Regions from separate parts of the Homo sapiens genome. Here region 2 is linked to region 1. The links are contacts of gene promoters, found by promoter capture Hi-C in blood cells and fetal thymus (Javierre and others, 2016). All regions are on one chromosome and are shown on one strand. The core of a region is centred on a gene start or on the middle of the fragment in contact, and the rest is flanking DNA. Distances in the headings are between cores, read along the strand shown. Region 1 holds the start of NDUFS8 (NADH:ubiquinone oxidoreductase core subunit S8). Region 2 holds the start of KDM2A (lysine demethylase 2A).

Region 1 (2,889 bases), core at 64-2,563:
AGGACTTCCCCAATCCACGCAGGAATCCCCGCAGGCATCCACGCAGGAATCACCTGATGAAGGGCCAGGGTCAGGTGTGGGCCACCATCCCAAGACCTCCCTTCTCTCTAGGGCCAGCCCCTCTCCTCTGAGCACCTGCTGACCAGCCCAAAGCCCTCTCCACTCCTCAGCTTGAACTCCCCCAGGGTCTCCCTGTGGCCCACAGGTCCTTTGGAGGCTCGGGCATCTGCATGCAAATCCCAAACCACTGTCCCCTTTGCACACACTGAGCCTGCCCTTGTCCTCGTCCTGGTCTACCATGCGTGTCCTCCCTCTGCACGGGCATGGGACATGCCCTCTGCCTCCTTCCTGTCCTGGCCTGCCCAACTCCTACCTACCCTCAGCGCAGATCCTCCCAACACACACATGCAGGCAGCCTCGGGGCCTCTGCGGGTCCCTCTACCACAGCATTCCCGGGGAAAGGCCCGGCGTGGTGGCTCACGCCTGTAATCCCAGCACTTTGGCAGGCCGAGGCAGGAGGATCGCCTGAGTCCAGGAGTTCCAGACCAGCCTGGGCAACATGGCGAGACCCCGTCTCTACAAAAAATACAAAAATTAGCCGAGCCTGGTGGTGGCAGGCGACTGTGGTTCCAGCTGCTCGGGAGGCTGAGAAGTGAGGATCACCCGAGCCTGGGAGGTCGAGGCTGCAGTGAGCCGAGATCGCACCACTGCATTCCAGCCTGAGCCACAGAGCCAGATTGTCTCAAAAAAAGAAAAAAAAAAAAAAAAAAAAAAAAATTCGCTGGTAGGAAACATAGGCTGGTTGAGTACGGGAGTCATACAGATCAGGTGGATCAGGCGGCCGCACACCGCAGCTCTACGGCCCGGGAACGTTACTAAATACTCCCATGCCTCAGCTTCCCGCCTTAACGTGGTAACACGTTACTGTAGTTTCTCCACGCAGAGCTGCTGTGAGGATTAAAAGAGGCCGCGTGAGTTGAGCATCTCGTCGCCATTACCGTCATCACACGCCCCCCACCCAACCCGGCGGGCCCACCCTCTGCACCCACGGCGAAAGCACTCTTTCTAAACCACGCCCCGGATGTCCCGCCTCCAGCGGCTCGGAGGTCTTCACTTATTGGCCTCCCCAAACCAACATGGCGGCCCCCTACAAACTTCAAGCGCCGGTCTCTCCTAGCCAATCAAAAGAAAGATATTTCTGAATCCCGCCTCTTTCAGCAGCCTTGCTGGCCAATCAGACCACACCATGAAGCATCAATACAGAAAAGGGGGAACCCGCTGGCCCAATGGCAGCGTCCTACAGTGTAGCCTCCGCCTCCCGATTGACTGGCCTGCTTGGCAAGGCAAGTAGCGGCGGCGCTTCAAGGTGGGTGTTCACGTTTTGGCCGTGAAAGTCGGGCTTGGGCAGCGTGGCGTCGGGGGCGAGTGTGGTGTCCCCGTTGGCGCCGCCAGCTCTGCGCCTGGGCTTCCCCTCGGCTCACTCAGGATCCGCGGCCTCCGTGTCCTTCAGGTGCAGCGGGGAGCCGGCTCTCAGGGCGCATGCGCCGCCCGCTCTGCGCCACCGGCCTAGTTAGGGTCGGAGATCACTGGGAAGGTGGGGAAGGTGCTGGGTTGGGTCCCTGGAACTGCAGTCAGTGATCCAAAGGAGTGGGCCTGTTAGGGGGTTCACAGGTCGTGGGATGAGCTCTTATGAGCGCCGGCTAAGTGCCGGGCTCTGGGGTGCCCTTGGCATGTACGGGCTCCCCTAATTCCCAAGACCAACCGCCCCCAACCCACTTCATAGGTGAGAAGACGGAGGTCAGGTCACATCATCTGCCCAAGGTCACGCGGCAGGCTGGGGGACAGTTCCAGGAGGGCCTTGAAGCTGGGGAAAGGAATGTGGTACCGAGGACTGTTCAGGCCTTGAAGAGTTTCCAGCAGGGCAGGGCTGGGTTCCGATCCTCGGCCCACCTCCTTATCGTGTGACTTCCGACAAGTCACTTTTTTATCTTTTTTTTGAGACAAGGTCTCACTCTGTCGCCCAGGTTGGAGGGCAGTGGTGCAGTCTGGGCTCACTGCAACTTCTGCCTCCTGGGTTCAAGCGATTCTCCTACCTCAACCTCCCGAGTAGCTGGGATTATAAGTGCCCACCACCACACCTGGCTAATTTCTGTATTTTTTGGTAGGGACGGGGTTCCACCATGTTAGCCAGGCTGGTCTCAAACTCCTGACCTCAGGTGATCCACCTGCCTCAGCCTCCCAAAGTGCTGGGATTACAGGCGTGAGCCACCACACCCAGCCCTAGCGAGTCACTCAACAAACTGAGTCCCAGCGCCTTATTTGTGCCTCCCTCGTGGAGTCCTTGTAAGGATAGGATGGCAGCGCTTTCCACCCCTGGGCACGGTTCCTGGGGGAGGAGAGCTAACAAAGTTCGCTCTCAGTGCATGCTGGCGGGGGCTGGTAATGTTGTTTTTGGTTAGATTTGGGGAGGATGAAGGGAGGAGCAGAAAGGTGGGAAACAGGATCTCTGGGAGGGAGAAAGGAAGGATGGATTTAAAAGGTTTCTTAGGTGAGGCAGAACTTGGGGTCCACAGAAACTGAATTGTAGCTCAGCCAAGCTGAATCAGATGGAAAGCTGGGAGGCGCTGGGAACAGGAAAGCCATCTGTGCCTCTGACAGCAATGGGGTGCGAGTAGAGGGCAAAGTGACACATGTCAGTGGAGACTTGGGATCCTTGCGGTGCCAGTCTCAGAAGAGGATGGTTCTTGGGCACACCCCACCCTCCATCCCTTTTTATGCCACCAGATGCGCTGCCTGACCACGCCTATGCTGCTGCGGGCCCTGGCCCAGGCTGCACGTGCAGGTAGGACCAAAGAAGCCTTTGCTGGGGGTAGGGGAGTCCAGTCTCCT
Region 2 (3,586 bases), core at 406-2,905, 910 kb before region 1:
CATTCCCTGCTTCCAGGAGTCAGAGCTTAAAGAGTGGGAAACCAAGGCAGGGAGAAAAAGATTTGTGTGACACCGCTCAGCAAGGGCGTAGTGGAGCCAATAGTGCCAACCCCGATGTGTAACGCCCCAGCCACCGTCCTTTGTGGGATTTAGAATTTAAACGGGCCCCAGAGCAAGAGATTGGCTGGGGAAATGCCCGGATCGCGGCTGGGCTGCTCGCATGGCACTGCTCGGGTACCTCCGGCCGGGCTCCGTCGACGTTCGGAGCCTGCTGGCCCGTCGGGCAGCTGTCGGGCCGCGGGAGTCGGTCCGTGGGCAGGGCCGGCGCAGCTCGGGCGGCTGCTGCCCCGTCGCTGACCCCCGCGCGAAGCTGCGCGCACCAACAGGAGACATCTTCCCGGCCGGGCCTCCCGCGCCCGCCACGGCCCAGGGCGGCAGGGTCGGGCCGGGGGCCGGGGGCGGCCCGCGCACCCCTCCGTGGGGGGCGCCCCGACTCGCCGGGGGCGGGGTCACGTCCCACCCGGGCCGCCGGGGGCACCGGCGCGGCGGAAAGCTGAGCGTGGCCGAGGAGCGGGGGCTTCCTGGGCCACCTCGCCGGGCGCCTCCGGCCGGCGGTGGGCGCGCCGGCCGCCACCGCCCCCGGGCCGTCGCGGAGACCGCTTCTGCGCCTGGTACCTGTGGACGCCCTTGTTAAGCGCCTGCAGCACCCCCGGGGAGCCGAGCCCAGGACAGACATGCTACTCCTGTTTCCTGCCCCTTCGGAGCGACGAGCAGTGGGTGAGGCGGGGCCAGGCCGCTGCACCGAGGAGCCCCCGGGCCCAGGGCAGACGGGCCCCGTGGCGGCGGCGCCGGGGCCTGCCCGGGAATGGCGGGCAAGCCGGCCTCGGCCCACCGGCCGGCACGCGAAGGGAGGGCAGCCGGCGGCCATGCGCCCCTTCCCTGCGCCCTCTCGCCCTGGGCAGGCCTGAGCCGGGAGCCCAGGTCCCGCGGGCCCAGCCCGGCGGCTTGACCCCGGGAGACCCTGCTTTGAGGCGGGTATCGGTTGCCCTGGCCCAGGCCTCCCGGCCCTCAGGTTGTGTGACTGTGACGGGCAGCCTGGGGCCAAAGGCGGTTGAAGGGGAAGGGGACGCAGATCTCCCACTGCTTGGGGGGGGTGATGTGCTTTGTGGGGGGTCGGGGGTCACCACCCTCCCAGGGGGGTGGGGGAGGGCGGCCAGCACAGCTGGCCGCGAGGGGCGGGGTCGCAGAGGCGAAGTGTGTGTGAGGGTGTGTGGGGGGAGGGCGCGCGGAGGAGGATCGGTGCCCTGCGCGCAGGCGCGAGCAGCCAGCCAGGCCCGAGCCCTGGAAGAACGCCGACGGGGAGCGGGGGCGGCGGGCTGGCGGGAGGGAGGGAGGGCGGGCGGCCTGACGCGAGGGGGCGCAGGGAGCCGCGTCGGCGTCGCGGGGCGCGGGCGATTCGAGGCCGACGCATCCGCGCGTGCGCGCGCCGGCGGTGTGTCCGCGTTAGAGGGGAGTGACGCGTGCGCGTTCACGCGCGCCCGGGAGAGCGGTAAGAAGCGCAGGGAGGCCTGAAGGGGGTGGGGGGGTGGAGAGGCGAGCTGGAGGAGGGGTGGGGAGGTGGCGCCTGCGCAGTGCGCCTCGGAGGAGCTGTGTGTATGTGAGAGTCTGACGGGTTCAAAATGGCGGCGGCTGCTTCAGCGGCTCCTCCTGTGTGAGGGAAACAACACCCCTCCCCGGCAGCGGCGGCGGCGGCGGCGGCTCTCGGAGCACCTTCCCAGCGGCTGGGCCCGTGGCCGCTCTGTCTTTCCTGGGCAGGGGACGCTCCGGGAGGAGGGGCAACGCCAGGGGGCCCATCCCCCGGAATCCCTCTTCTGCGACTGGGGAGTAGCCGGGGGGCTCGTCCCGCAGCGCGGAGCCAGACCTGAGGGGGAGACGCGAGGGGAGCCAGGGCCCCCATCCCGGCGCGCCGCGCCGCTCCCGCCCTGTCCGCCCCCCGGGGCCGGGGCCCGCGTTCCGGGGGGCCGGGGCGGCGCGGGGAGCCTCGGGCCGGCCGGTCTCAGCTGATCGGCCGCTGCTCCCGCAGGCGACCAGCCCCTGCTGGCCGAGGGCACGGCGAGGAGGGCGCTCCCTGCGGCCGGGGCCGGCCCGGGGCTCGGGCCCGGGCTGCTGACCGCTGGCCTGGGGGAGGCGGGGGCGCCCCGGGCTCGGCGCCGAGGGGTCGCGCTCCTCTCTCCTGACGCCTCCGACTCCCGGTCTCCAAAGCCAGAAGAGAAGGTTTGATTCAGCAACTGTTTGCTCCCTTTTCCTGGTCGCTCTGACCCTCTCTGGATACTGGGTTGATCCACGGAAAAACCGAAGACGACGTTTGGGATTTAATTATTCCTCTCAGCTTTGGAATCTTTTACTTCTCACTTGGACAAGAACTCAAGAGCAGAATCTCCGGTGAGTTTCCCCCTCCCCCCCCTCATTTGGAAGTTTGGTTGACTGTGTTATCCAAAGACTGAATGCAAAGTTTCTATCTCTTTTTCCGATGGGTGAACCATTGAAACGCCTTTTCCTGGGGGAGCCCAGCGAGATTCGCCCTTTTTCCTCTCCGGCCCTGGCTGCTCCATGCCCAGGCGGTCGTCGCCCAGGGGGTGCAAGCACGGTTTCCCTCCCGACTTCGGGCCAGGGCTTCCTCCGGGAGGGCTCTGCCTCTAACTGCTCTGCAAACTGTGTCATCGGGTCCTCTGGTCTCGTAGCAGTTTTGAAAGGATGCTGTTAACGTGGCTGTAATGTAGTGACAAAAACGGGGGGAACCTGTGTTCTCAATGGAAGCCATTATCCACGAGAATATTTAGAAAAAAGAAAACCCTTTCTTGGTATTACGGATTGACCGTCGCGCCGGCCGGTCTTTTATTTAATTTTTGGACAAGATGTATTTTCCTTGTATCCTTAGATGCAATCGTTTATTTTATTACTTTATCCAAAAAGATCAGATGGAATTTTGGTCCTTGATTTGCACCTCTGAAATTTGTTTCAGAGTTGTGCACATCTTGTGTTGGGGTGGAGGGTAGATTTGGGAATGATAAGATCCGGGGAGTCTAGAAAGGAAGGCGACGATTGTGCACGGCCTTACAGGAGGGGTATGGGAAATTGTTTTGGGGTCATTTAAATCCTAATTTTTTGTCCTCTTTTTACATAGTCAGTTTGCCCTTCTTTCCTTTAGTTTCTGATTACCGGTGAGAGAGAACTAATTTGGTTAGGATCTGGATTAGTTCAGTGGTGCTTCACCTGGTCAGCTCTCTGGAGATAAAAGTCCTGGGCTTTTTTTTTTTCTTGCTGATGCTGCCATGAAGGAGATCCTTGCTAGTTGTAATCCTGTGGGGAGAAACTGGTGGTGTGGCCCTTCCACAAGGAACTGAAACCAACATCTCGTTTCGTCTAGGCCTCCGACAGTTGTAATGTGATTAATGTTGAACATGACATGGAACCACTTGCCCAAGAGCAGAAAGGTCCCAAACTCATGAAGAGGAACCTGATTTTTCAGAGAGCCTTTAACACTTACCTTAAATACTCCTTTCCGTGAACAGAAAGCACAAGTTTG

What was found. The method cuts DNA at HindIII sites, captures the fragments that hold promoters and counts their contacts. A CHiCAGO score of 5 or more calls a contact.
Region 2: the fragment with the promoter of KDM2A here is called in contact with the fragment with the promoter of NDUFS8 in region 1 in 1 of 17 cell types (neutrophils); the score reaches 10.2 in neutrophils.

The regions. Positions count from the first base shown.
Region 1 is chr11:68,029,368-68,032,256 of GRCh38, forward strand. NDUFS8 (NADH:ubiquinone oxidoreductase core subunit S8) reads left to right here and starts at 1,314. Exons shown (of 7, transcript NM_002496.4): 1 at 1,314-1,366; 2 at 2,785-2,842. The coding sequence starts at 2,785. It overlaps GLTC1 (glycolysis associated regulator of LDHA post-transcriptional modification 1), which reads right to left and starts at 1,067. Exons shown (of 4, transcript NR_197583.1): 1 at 926-1,067; 2 at 1-53. RefSeq lists enhancers at 1,055-1,349, 1,341-1,520. The HindIII fragment of the contact is 7,666 bases long and covers 1-2,889 here.
Region 2 is chr11:67,117,608-67,121,193 of GRCh38, forward strand. It overlaps KDM2A (lysine demethylase 2A), which reads left to right and starts at 1,656. Exons shown (of 21, transcript NM_012308.3): 1 at 1,656-2,442. LOC107984341 (a long non-coding RNA gene) reads right to left here and starts at 741. Exons shown (of 2, transcript NR_160735.1): 1 at 1-741. RefSeq lists silencers at 563-612, 753-1,032, 1,213-1,652, 1,793-1,862, 2,043-2,182 and 2 more and an enhancer at 1,093-1,142. The HindIII fragment of the contact is 9,806 bases long and covers 1-3,586 here.